Linked DNA regions of Homo sapiens: region 1 is linked to region 2. The links are contacts of gene promoters, found by promoter capture Hi-C in blood cells and fetal thymus (Javierre and others, 2016). All regions are on one chromosome and are shown on one strand. The core of a region is centred on a gene start or on the middle of the fragment in contact, and the rest is flanking DNA. Distances in the headings are between cores, read along the strand shown. Region 1 holds the start of ISLR (immunoglobulin superfamily containing leucine rich repeat). Region 2 holds the start of CYP1A2 (cytochrome P450 family 1 subfamily A member 2).

Region 1 (6,190 bases), core at 1,375-3,874, 580 kb before region 2:
GGAGAGGGGAGATGGCAGCCCAGACAGCCCACAGGAAGCTCCCAGCCTGAAAAGATCAGGGAGCCCGACTTCTGACTTGTCTCCCTGCCTGCTGGCATGATCTCCTGTGAGGTGGGCTTTACAGAAAGAACTTGAGCTCTGACAGCAAGAGAAGAGCAGAGGGGCAACCCAGGAGGTCATACGCCCCATCCTCAGAGGCCTGCACAACTGCTCCTGGGCTCTGCTGAGGAGCAGGCCCACCTGTCCCACTGTGAGACACCTTGGAGAGTCAATAGTCCTTGGCTGAGATCCTGGCGGCCTTATTGTCCTTCCTGGTGGAAGCGGGTATGGCCACACCTTGCAGGCAGTGGCAGGACCTGAGCAGACCAGGAAGATACATCAGTGACCAGCACGCACAGTCTCATTTCTGCCCAGGTGGGCTGGTCCCTCCCACTTTTCCCGCCCTCAGCCCCCCACATCTGTTTTGAGGTGGGAGTCTGAGCTTAGTGTTTGGCTGTCATTAAGGTCTTAGGTAGGGAATGAGGGGACAGACTCCCTGCCCCCAGAAGGCTGCTGACATACTCACCCACCCAACAGAGCATGGGTCTCCTACACTGTATGAAATATTCTCTAAAATGTCTTGGGCATGCCCCTTCCCTAGCCTGGGCCCAAAGGCCCTATCTGTAAGTTGATGAGGAGATGAAGTGGGTGAGCTCTAAAATGCTTCCTTCTGATGACCACCCAACTTGTCCATCATGCCATGAAGGGGGCGCTTACAGAGTGTCTTCCCTGTGCTGGAGATCAATAGCACCTGGGAAGTTAAGGCCTCTGCCCTCAGTGGGCTTCCTCTCTAGTAAGGGGTCGCACATTAAGCACGCATGAATAAATAATCACAGCTTATAGGAGGAGCTATGAAGAAAAGTCAGGAATGTCTGAGAGAACAGTCACTGGGAACTGAGGGCTGAGGAGGTGCTTGTACTCTGACCCTGATGTGCTTGCAAGGAGGGAGGTGGGGTGGGAACTATGAGCTCCTCAGAGCACCCTGGAGGTAAAGCTGGTGGCACAGACTTTGTGCAGGTGAGGGTGTGTGTATGGGCTGTGCAGAACATAGTGAAGCCCCCTCCACCAGGAAGCCCTCCCTGACTGACACTGAGGTCACTGAGTCTCCCCTCTGGTTTACTGAACCCTGGATGTGTTTCTTGCAGCCTCTGGTTGGCCCACCAAATTCAGGACTTTCCTAGAAATTCTCCAGCACAGTCAGGATGATGCAAGAGAGGGCTTCCTCTGCAGGGGAAAGAGAGGGTGCTCTCCATTGGACCATAATAATATCCTCAGCATCAGACTCGGGTGTTTTGCAGGCAGCATGCTGGGGACTTCTGTGGCCTTGCTTGGTGACAGGGAATGGGGTGTGATGAGCTGGGGCAGGCTTCCTGGGGATGCTTTCAGCCAAAGATGAGCCCTGTCTGCCCTTGGCCCTGCTGAGAGGGTAAGTTGAGTCATGAGCAGAATTCAACCAGTTATCAGATGGAAGGCCAAGGAAGCTTGGGGAGGGCTACTGAGGGGATACGGTAGGCTTGTCTGTGGAGAGCAAAATTCTTCAGTCTACAAAGTTCTTTTCTGGGCTCCTTCATCTTTCGGTTTCTCTTCCAGCTCCCTCGTTTTGGGCCTCTTTTGTTTCCCCATTCCCCTCCCCTGGGCCTTCCCGTTTGGAAAAGGGGTCACATATCCTCACCCTGGAGGCGTCTGCCCCTTCCACACAGTTGGTGTTGGAACAGTGGAGCTCAGAGAGGCCGATGCTGACCGCGTAGATGTCCAGCACCAACAGTGGGATTTTGGGCCCTGTGGGGGACACAGAGAGAACTCTCCGGGAGTGCGGCCCCTTGGCCTCCCCTCTGGGTGCCCAGTGGGCAGTGGGCCTGGGTGGCTCAGAATCCCAGCCAGGAGCACTGAAGGTCAACAGGCTCCCGCCCTGAGTTTTCTGAGCCAGGCCTCCCTGTTTCCTCCCCAGCCAGTGGGGAGCGCAGTGAGGGGCGGGGCCTGGAGTCTTGGGAGCTCCCTGGACAACAACATGCATTTAGCGCAGCTCAGTCTCAGAGCCAGCAGGATATGTTTTCTTAAAAAAAAAAAAAATGCCTAACATCTTGGCTTTCACCGAAGGGTTGGTATCTGCTTTGTACACTTTGGCCTTCTTGGCTTTTCACTGAAACACACACACATGGATGCACACTCACTTCCACACACAAACCCACACCAAGACAGACACACACACACACTCACACACAAACTCATGTACATGGTTTCATACCCACATCCATGCAAACACACATACAAATCCAGAAATACGCACCCTCACACCCACAAACTTGTACACACACACACACGTATACACACCAACACACATACAACCCTGGCTTGGACAAAAGCTTCCCGTTTTTTCTTGTTTGAAGTGGAAATCTCCCACCTTCCATGAGATTCAATTTCTCGCCCTTCCCCCGCTAAAATCCTCCTGGCCCCATCATTTCTTGGGTCCTTTCCAGACAGTGCTGTGTCTTTAAGGAAGTTGAAGCTGCTAAAAGTGAGTGAGAGAGAGAGAAAAAACACAACCCAAAAAAATTTGGCATCTCTTCCCCCCTCAAGTTTCTGGTGTCACTTATGAAACACAGGTCCTTGTTGCTGCAGAGAAGCAGTTGTTTTGCTGGAAGGAGGGAGTGCGCGGGCTGCCCCGGGCTCCTCCCTGCCGCCTCCTCTCAGTGGATGGTTCCAGGCACCCTGTCTGGGGCAGGGAGGGCACAGGCCTGCACATCGAAGGTGGGGTGGGACCAGGCTGCCCCTCGCCCCAGCATCCAAGTCCTCCCTTGGGCGCCCGTGGCCCTGCAGACTCTCAGGGCTAAGGTCCTCTGTTGCTTTTTGGTTCCACCTTAGAAGAGGCTCCGCTTGACTAAGAGTAGCTTGAAGGTAAGCCAGTGGGGAGGAGGGCTCCAGGGCCAGCGGCGGGAGCGGGAGGCCTGTTGGACATAGGGGCTGGTTCCCTCTTGGTCCATCCCTGCTGGTCTGAGGTGCGTGGGACAATCCCTAGCTTGGAGCCGTCCAGGGGGCATCTGCTTCTTCCACAACCCACAACTGAGGCCCCAGAAATCCCAGCTGCGTTTGGGCTGAGCCTCTGGCCTCACCCAAGTCAGCTGAGAGGTCCTGGCGGGGGTTTATTTAGGCAGCTGCCTGGCTAAGTTTGAACAGAACAGGCCACGGGTGTGATTCCACAGAAAAGGCCTGGTGTCTGCTGCGGTCATGGCCGGAGGAGCGGGAGAGGGCGGGTGGAGTGGATGGGGGTGGTGTGCACTGCACAAGGGGCCTCGTCTGGGCCAAGGCAAAGCATACCTATGGGGGGCTCCGGTGGGAGGGACTGCGGCCAGGATGTGGGAGGGCAGGGGGAGGTTCTGCAAAGTGCTGGGGGAGGGGGGTGGCTGGAAAACAGATTTCAAGTCATAAAGTCAGCTAGGAACAGGCCGAGGCAGGGAGAACTCTCCACTCGGAGGAGGAGCTGGGGTCCTCTTCCATCCCGTCTTCATCCTGCCTGGCTGCGTGACCTCGGGCAAGTCTCCGCCCTTCTCTTGGCCTCAGTTTCTCCTTCCGTAGGATGGGGGCGGTGGGCTAGGTGGTGTTGGGATTTAGCTGGGTTATGTGGGACAGGGCCTCCTGATGGGAAAGAGCTCTGGCTGGGCTTGTGGGAGGAATGAGTCCCTTTGGCAGGTTCTCGGGATCCCCTGGGTGACATGCCTTTCTCTGCAGGAGGCACCATGCAGGAGCTGCATCTGCTCTGGTGGGCGCTTCTCCTGGGCCTGGCTCAGGCCTGCCCTGAGCCCTGCGACTGTGGGGAAAAGTATGGCTTCCAGATCGCCGACTGTGCCTACCGCGACCTAGAATCCGTGCCGCCTGGCTTCCCGGCCAATGTGACTACACTGAGCCTGTCAGCCAACCGGCTGCCAGGCTTGCCGGAGGGTGCCTTCAGGGAGGTGCCCCTGCTGCAGTCGCTGTGGCTGGCACACAATGAGATCCGCACGGTGGCCGCCGGAGCCCTGGCCTCTCTGAGCCATCTCAAGAGCCTGGACCTCAGCCACAATCTCATCTCTGACTTTGCCTGGAGCGACCTGCACAACCTCAGTGCCCTCCAATTGCTCAAGATGGACAGCAACGAGCTGACCTTCATCCCCCGCGACGCCTTCCGCAGCCTCCGTGCTCTGCGCTCGCTGCAACTCAACCACAACCGCTTGCACACATTGGCCGAGGGCACCTTCACCCCGCTCACCGCGCTGTCCCACCTGCAGATCAACGAGAACCCCTTCGACTGCACCTGCGGCATCGTGTGGCTCAAGACATGGGCCCTGACCACGGCCGTGTCCATCCCGGAGCAGGACAACATCGCCTGCACCTCACCCCATGTGCTCAAGGGTACGCCGCTGAGCCGCCTGCCGCCACTGCCATGCTCGGCGCCCTCAGTGCAGCTCAGCTACCAACCCAGCCAGGATGGTGCCGAGCTGCGGCCTGGTTTTGTGCTGGCACTGCACTGTGATGTGGACGGGCAGCCGGCCCCTCAGCTTCACTGGCACATCCAGATACCCAGTGGCATTGTGGAGATCACCAGCCCCAACGTGGGCACTGATGGGCGTGCCCTGCCTGGCACCCCTGTGGCCAGCTCCCAGCCGCGCTTCCAGGCCTTTGCCAATGGCAGCCTGCTTATCCCCGACTTTGGCAAGCTGGAGGAAGGCACCTACAGCTGCCTGGCCACCAATGAGCTGGGCAGTGCTGAGAGCTCAGTGGACGTGGCACTGGCCACGCCCGGTGAGGGTGGTGAGGACACACTGGGGCGCAGGTTCCATGGCAAAGCGGTTGAGGGAAAGGGCTGCTATACGGTTGACAACGAGGTGCAGCCATCAGGGCCGGAGGACAATGTGGTCATCATCTACCTCAGCCGTGCTGGGAACCCTGAGGCTGCAGTCGCAGAAGGGGTCCCTGGGCAGCTGCCCCCAGGCCTGCTCCTGCTGGGCCAAAGCCTCCTCCTCTTCTTCTTCCTCACCTCCTTCTAGCCCCACCCAGGGCTTCCCTAACTCCTCCCCTTGCCCCTACCAATGCCCCTTTAAGTGCTGCAGGGGTCTGGGGTTGGCAACTCCTGAGGCCTGCATGGGTGACTTCACATTTTCCTACCTCTCCTTCTAATCTCTTCTAGAGCACCTGCTATCCCCAACTTCTAGACCTGCTCCAAACTAGTGACTAGGATAGAATTTGATCCCCTAACTCACTGTCTGCGGTGCTCATTGCTGCTAACAGCATTGCCTGTGCTCTCCTCTCAGGGGCAGCATGCTAACGGGGCGACGTCCTAATCCAACTGGGAGAAGCCTCAGTGGTGGAATTCCAGGCACTGTGACTGTCAAGCTGGCAAGGGCCAGGATTGGGGGAATGGAGCTGGGGCTTAGCTGGGAGGTGGTCTGAAGCAGACAGGGAATGGGAGAGGAGGATGGGAAGTAGACAGTGGCTGGTATGGCTCTGAGGCTCCCTGGGGCCTGCTCAAGCTCCTCCTGCTCCTTGCTGTTTTCTGATGATTTGGGGGCTTGGGAGTCCCTTTGTCCTCATCTGAGACTGAAATGTGGGGATCCAGGATGGCCTTCCTTCCTCTTACCCTTCCTCCCTCAGCCTGCAACCTCTATCCTGGAACCTGTCCTCCCTTTCTCCCCAACTATGCATCTGTTGTCTGCTCCTCTGCAAAGGCCAGCCAGCTTGGGAGCAGCAGAGAAATAAACAGCATTTCTGATGCCCCTCCGTGTCTGCCTGGAATTTTGTCTGGATCTAGGAGCCTCTGCTGGGAGATAGGATCAGGAGCTGAAGAGTCAGGGCAGCCAGCCTGCCTGCCCACAGTGGCAGGGGCCTCTGAGACTCCAACAGACTGTGGAGGCACAGGAGTGCTGGCCCGATGCTGTGTCAGGGGCTGGGCCTTGCGGTGAGCTGAGCTGCAGATGTTCCCTTCCTCCAAACCATCCCACAGGACAGCTGGGGGCAGGAGCCTGGGGTGGCTGGCGACCCTGAGCAGCGCCTGATGTCAGCAGTGGCTTCAAGAGAGGCATTTTGGAAAGGCGCAAGGAAATGGAAGTGCCTGGGTGGTAGCTCCTCTTCCCTGTCCTGCTCCTGGAAGAGATGTTAGGAATGAAGAGGAAAGAGGGGA
Region 2 (6,385 bases), core at 1,503-4,002:
TGACATATGCACTTTTCTATATTGTATCCTGTAATTTAATTTTTTTAAGTTTTAAGAAAACATTAAAAATAAAAAGATAAATAGTCTGTCATACAGGAGAATTTCAAATAGTTTATGGAGATAATCCCCCCTCAAGGAGAAGGAGCGTAATCCCCCACTCCTTCGGTGTGGGCTGTGCATAGTGACTTCCTTCCAAAAGGTACAGTATGGAAAGGTGGGAAAGGAGTAACTTTACAGTGAAGAGACCTGACACGCACTACCTTAGCCAGGTGATCAAGGTCAACATCCACATCTGTAAGTCACATTGATAGGATGTAACCCTGATATGATGTGACGAGAATGGCACCTAACCTCCAAGGTCTTCCCACCAACAAACCATAACCCCAGGCTTACCATGAGAAGAAAAACATCAGGCACATTCCAATAGTGGGCATCCTACAAAATGTCCAACCAGTACTCCTGAAAATTGTCAAGGTCATCAAAAACAAGGATATCCTGAGAAACTGTCACAGCCAAGAGGAATCCAAAGAGACGTGATGACTAAATGTCATGTGATATCCAATGGGTCCTGGAACAGGAAAAGGACATTAGGTAAAACGCAAGGAAATCTAAGTAAACCATGAACTTTAGTTAATTAGAGAGACAGACAGACAGAGAGAAAGAAAGAGTCCATTTTCTATAAAACCGAGCCTAACCTCAAACCTTGACCTTTTTCATTGAGTCATCTGAACCCAATGGAGATATAGACAGGAAACAACTTTCCTCTTCTCCCATTCATGGCCTTCAAACATGCTCTGTTTCTCTATTGGATTCCCCATCCATCTGCCTTGGCATCTTCACAGGTTGATCCCACAGTTTTCTCATTTTCAGGAATAAAAGCCCACTCCAGTCTAAATCAAAACTTCCCTCTCACATCCATGCCGGGCACAGTGGCTCACACCTGTAATCCCAGCAGTTTGGGAGGCCAAGGCAGAAGGATTGCTTGGGCCCAGAAGTTCAAGACCAACCTGGGCAACATGGCAAGACCTCCTCTCTACAAAAAAATGTTTAAAAATAAAAAAATTAGCCAGGCATGGTGCACACACCTGTGATTGTGGTCCCAGCTACTCAGGAGGCTGAGGCAAGAGGATTGTTTGAGCTCAGGAGGTCGAGGCTGCAGTGAGCCATGATTGTGGCACATGAACCCCAACCTGGGTGACAGAGCAAGACTCTGTATCTAAAAAAAAAAAAAAAAGATAGCAAACTTCCTTTTCACATCCAATTTAAGGCTTGTCCTCCTCCTCCTCTTAGATCTGACTGAGATCTGGGTCCATATTAAAGACTCCTTTAGTACAACAAACACCATATATCCTCACGTAAGTCCATGAATATCTGACATTTCTCATATCTACTTTCTCTCGATTTATTGATAGATAGGTATACATTGTTTTAATTTTATGGGTACATAGTAGGTGTATATATGTATGGGGTACATGAAATGTTTTGATACAGGCATGCAATATGAAATAAGCATTCATGGAGAATGGAGTATCCATCCCCTCAAGCAAGGATAAACCTTTGAGTTACAAACAATCCAATTACACTCTTTAAAGGTGTACATTTTTTTTTTTTTTGAGACGGAGTCTCACTCTGTCGCCCAGGCTGGAGTGGAGTGGCACGATCTTGGCTCACTGCAGCCTCCACCTCCCAAGTTCAAGCCATTCTCCTGCCTCAGCCTCCCGAGTAGCTGGGATCACAGGCACATGCCACCATGCCTGGCTAATTTTTGTATTTTTAGTAGAGACGGAGTTTCACCAGGTTGGCCAGGCTGGTCTTGAACACCTGATCTCAGGTGATCCGCCCATCTCGGCCTCTCAAAGTGCTGGGATTACAGGTGCGAGCCATCGCGCCTGGCCTAGAGGTGTACATTTTTTAACAGAACCATTCAAAAGGAGGTTGTGGGGATCATGACACTTCCATGCTACAGCATTAATCTCCTAAGAATAAGGATACACTCCCACATACCATGACACTCTGTTCACACCTAAAAAAATTTACATTTATTCCAGAATATCATCTAATCTCCAGTCCGTGCTTACATGTCCCCAATTGTCCCCAAAACATCTTTTATAGATTTTTTTAAAATTTTGTTTAAATGCCATATCCAATCGATATGGCAATCAAATGCAAATCCATATTGCATTTGGTTATGTCTCTTAGTCTTTTTGCATAAGGGGGGCCTCTCTTTAGGATGCAAAATCTTTATCATCTCTTCTTTTCCACTTGGGGACTTGGGCTGAAAATCAGGAGTGGCTGGAACACGCCCATTTACTGTTTGGTTTTGCAGGTTGTTGGAGGGTACTACAGAAGAACATCCCTCTGGAGAGGGGCCGTGAGCCTGGTTGGCCTAGACTGAGTGCCCTGGCAGAGCTCTTCCTCATGTGTGCAGTGGGAAAGAAGCCCAGATCAGTCCAAAGGCCTAACCCCCACTCCCAGACCCTACCCTACTCTTCAGAGAAATAGGCTCCCTACCCTGAACCCTAAAGACAGCTGTACCTTCATCCCCAGGGACCCAGCACCCCTTCTGGCCTATCCCCAAAGAGTCACCCTGGGTCTTAGGTAGTAGGTGGAGCTGAGGGATAATGGCCCAAGGCCAAGAGTTGATCCTTCCAACTTTGTTCAGTGATCCAGCTTTCATATCAGGTGATCAGGACAACCAGGCCAATCTGATAGGGGGCGGTGTTTATAAAAAGGCCACTCACCTAGAGCCAGAAGCTCCACACCAGCCATTACAACCCTGCCAATCTCAAGCACCTGCCTCTACAGGTACCTTTCTTGGGACCAATTTACAATCTCTGGGATCCCCAACTATAGAACCTGGAAGCTAGTGGGGACAGAAAGACGGGGAGCCTGGGCTAGGTGTAGGGGTCCTGAGTTCCGGGCTTTGCTACCCAGCTCTTGACTTCTGTTTCCCGATTTTAAATGAGCAGTTTGGACTAAGCCATTTTTAAGGAGAGCGATGGGGAGGGCTTCCCCCTTAGCACAAGGGCAGCCCTGGCCCTGGCTGAAGCCCAACCCCAACCTCCAAGACTGTGAGAGGATGGGGACTCATCCCTGGAGGAGGTGCCCCTCCTGGTATTGATAAAGAATGCCCTGGGGAGGGGGCATCACAGGCTATTTGAACCAGCCCTGGGACCTTGGCCACCTCAGTGTCACTGGGTAGGGGGAACTCCTGGTCCCTTGGGTATATGGAAGGTATCAGCAGAAAGCCAGCACTGGCAGGGACTCTTTGGTACAATACCCAGCATGCATGCTGTGCCAGGGGCTGACAAGGGTGCTGTCCTTGGCTTCCCCATTTTGGAGTGGTCACTTGCCTCTACTCCAGCCCCAGAAGTGGAAACTGAGATGATGTGTGGAGGAGAGAGCCAGCGTTCATGTTGGGAATCTTGAGGCTCCTTTCCAGCTCTCAGATTCTGTGATGCTCAAAGGGTGAGCTCTGTGGGCCCAGGACGCATGGTAGATGGAGCTTAGTCTTTCTGGTATCCAGCTGGGAGCCAAGCACAGAACACGCATCAGTGTTTATCAAATGACTGAGGAAATGAATGAATGAATGTCTCCATCTCAACCCTCAGCCTGGTCCCTCCTTTTTTCCCTGCAGTTGGTACAGATGGCATTGTCCCAGTCTGTTCCCTTCTCGGCCACAGAGCTTCTCCTGGCCTCTGCCATCTTCTGCCTGGTATTCTGGGTGCTCAAGGGTTTGAGGCCTCGGGTCCCCAAAGGCCTGAAAAGTCCACCAGAGCCATGGGGCTGGCCCTTGCTCGGGCATGTGCTGACCCTGGGGAAGAACCCGCACCTGGCACTGTCAAGGATGAGCCAGCGCTACGGGGACGTCCTGCAGATCCGCATTGGCTCCACGCCCGTGCTGGTGCTGAGCCGCCTGGACACCATCCGGCAGGCCCTGGTGCGGCAGGGCGACGATTTCAAGGGCCGGCCTGACCTCTACACCTCCACCCTCATCACTGATGGCCAGAGCTTGACCTTCAGCACAGACTCTGGACCGGTGTGGGCTGCCCGCCGGCGCCTGGCCCAGAATGCCCTCAACACCTTCTCCATCGCCTCTGACCCAGCTTCCTCATCCTCCTGCTACCTGGAGGAGCATGTGAGCAAGGAGGCTAAGGCCCTGATCAGCAGGTTGCAGGAGCTGATGGCAGGGCCTGGGCACTTCGACCCTTACAATCAGGTGGTGGTGTCAGTGGCCAACGTCATTGGTGCCATGTGCTTCGGACAGCACTTCCCTGAGAGTAGCGATGAGATGCTCAGCCTCGTGAAGAACACTCATGAGTTCGTGGAGACTGCCTCCTCCGGGAACCCCCTGGACTTCTTCCCCATCCTTCGCTACCTGCCTAACCCTGCCCTGCAGAGGTTCAAGGCCTTCAACCAGAGGTTCCTGTGGTTCCTGCAGAAAACAGTCCAGGAGCACTATCAGGACTTTGACAAGGTGAGCCCGGGGTGCAGGTGGCAAGGGGCACCTTGCAGGGCCTGGGTGCAGCCCCTCCCTCCCAGCTCCAGCATGCCCACACAGCTGCTGTGTTGCCAAGGCCTAGGAAGGCTCTGGACACCTCAGACCAGCTGTGTGACCTGGAGCCGACTCTTCCCCTTCTCTGGGCCTCAGTTTCCTCATCCTTGAAGCCCCCTTCTCAGGGCTCCTCAAAGCCCCCAAGAAAAAAGCCCTGGAAATGGGGCCCTAGCAGAGTCCTGCAATGTGGGGGGCCTATGAGTGAGAAAGCTTTCATTCTGCAGAAACCTAAACCCCAACAGAGGCTAATCCCCAGCTCTGGTGTCACGTTGCTTCCCTGTGTTCACACTAACCTTTTCCTTCTTTGAAATTGGACCCCTGGTGTTATTGGGAGGAAGGGTCAATGGGGCATAAAATGACACTTTAAGCCATACCCAGGGCTGCTACCAGCTCCTGCTGCAAGCTGCAACCCCCTGCCTAGAGACCAAGTTGGGAGGATAGGGGGGTACCCAGCCACCAGGTACAGGCCAGGGGAGTGGAGCAACGTTCAGCCTTTGACCTTGGAAGTGCCAGAGGTGCCCCTAAGCTTGTGCCCCCTCAGAACAGTGTCCGGGACATCACGGGTGCCCTGTTCAAGCACAGCAAGAAGGGGCCTAGAGCCAGCGGCAACCTCATCCCACAGGAGAAGATTGTCAACCTTGTCAATGACATCTTTGGAGCAGGTAGGAACCAGAACCTTGCCCCTCCATCCAACAATGCCTGCTGTTCACCCACAGCCTTGCCCAGCCCCTCAGTCCATGAAATAACCCACCAACCCTACACCAGATGGTACAACATACTGAGATCTGGCTTGGGATCAGGGTTTGAGCCTGGGCTATGCCACCAATTCCCAGTGGAGAAACAGCAAAGTCCTTCTCCTCCCCTAGGCTTCAGTTTCCCCATCTGAACAATAAGGTGTTCTCTGGCCTGTAAGTCTAGGCCCCTATAATTCCAGCAGCTAATTCTGAAACCTGTATCTCAAGTTTATGTTGAAGAGACCCAGCCTCTGTCTTCAGGAAACTCACAGGCTAGGGCCAGAGAAAGCTAATGCTGGATACATACATAGCAGATACTTGGGAAATGATGGTTTCCTTGTTTCTGTCTTCCTTCTTTCCTCACCTTACACTACACGGTTCAGGATTTGACACAGTCACCACAGCCATCTCCTGGAGCCTCATGTACCTTGTGACCAAGCCTGAGATACAGAGGAAGATCCAGAAGGAGCTGGGTACATGGGGGCCCCCAACCCTATAGCCAGGAGAAGCCTTGAGACCCAGGTTGTTTGTTCAGTCTACAAACACCTGTTATGTGCCTGCTGTGTGCAAGCCCTGGGCACACAGTAGTGCCTGCCCTTGCCTAGAAGATGTGGGAGGTTAGTGGGGTCGCAGACTTGTGAATAGACAGTCTTACATAAGAGTGACATGGGGTATAAGAGGGGATAATTCATGGGGCAGTTAGGGCAGCCCCTGAGCTCTGCTTGTCCTCTGTGTTCTACAGACACTGTGATTGGCAGGGAGCGGCGGCCCCGGCTCTCTGACAGACCCCAGCTGCCCTACTTGGAGGCCTTCATCCTGGAGACCTTCCGACACTCCTCCTTCTTGCCCTTCACCATCCCCCACAGGTGAGGCCTGCCGGTTCTGCCCTCCCACCTCTAAAGTGCTTGCCATGTTTTCTCTTCCTGGCTTCTCAGCCCTGGCCCTGGCTCAGCATCTCCTTCCCGACCTCGTTCCCCACAGATCCCGGCCTCAGTCTGCCCCCATCCAGTCCAAACATAATCTAACCCCCAGCTCTCAGGAGAAAGTTCCACTTGTGATCTCAGCGCTCATTCCCCTCTGTTCATATTCCCTCCCT

Evidence for each region. The method cuts DNA at HindIII sites, captures the fragments that hold promoters and counts their contacts. A CHiCAGO score of 5 or more calls a contact.
Region 1: a contact is called between the fragment with the promoter of ISLR here and the fragment with the promoter of CYP1A2 in region 2, in 4 of 17 cell types (M1 macrophages, fetal thymus, M2 macrophages and 1 more). The highest score is 6.8, in M1 macrophages.

Annotation. Positions count from the first base shown.
Region 1 is chr15:74,171,086-74,177,275 of GRCh38, forward strand. It overlaps ISLR (immunoglobulin superfamily containing leucine rich repeat), which reads left to right and starts at 2,625. Exons shown (of 2, transcript NM_005545.4): 1 at 2,625-2,934; 2 at 3,766-5,786. The coding sequence starts at 3,774. The coding sequence ends at 5,060. RefSeq lists enhancers at 1,370-2,358, 2,359-3,346, 3,347-4,335, 5,443-5,959. The HindIII fragment of the contact is 10,197 bases long and covers 2,401-6,190 here.
Region 2 is chr15:74,746,093-74,752,477 of GRCh38, forward strand. CYP1A2 (cytochrome P450 family 1 subfamily A member 2) reads left to right here and starts at 2,753. Exons shown (of 7, transcript NM_000761.5): 1 at 2,753-2,805; 2 at 3,638-4,477; 3 at 5,097-5,217; 4 at 5,673-5,762; 5 at 6,032-6,155. The coding sequence starts at 3,647. RefSeq lists a cis regulatory region at 1-1,422, promoters at 1-2,843, 229-777, 2,509-3,646 and an enhancer at 397-655. The HindIII fragment of the contact is 9,803 bases long and covers 1-4,763 here.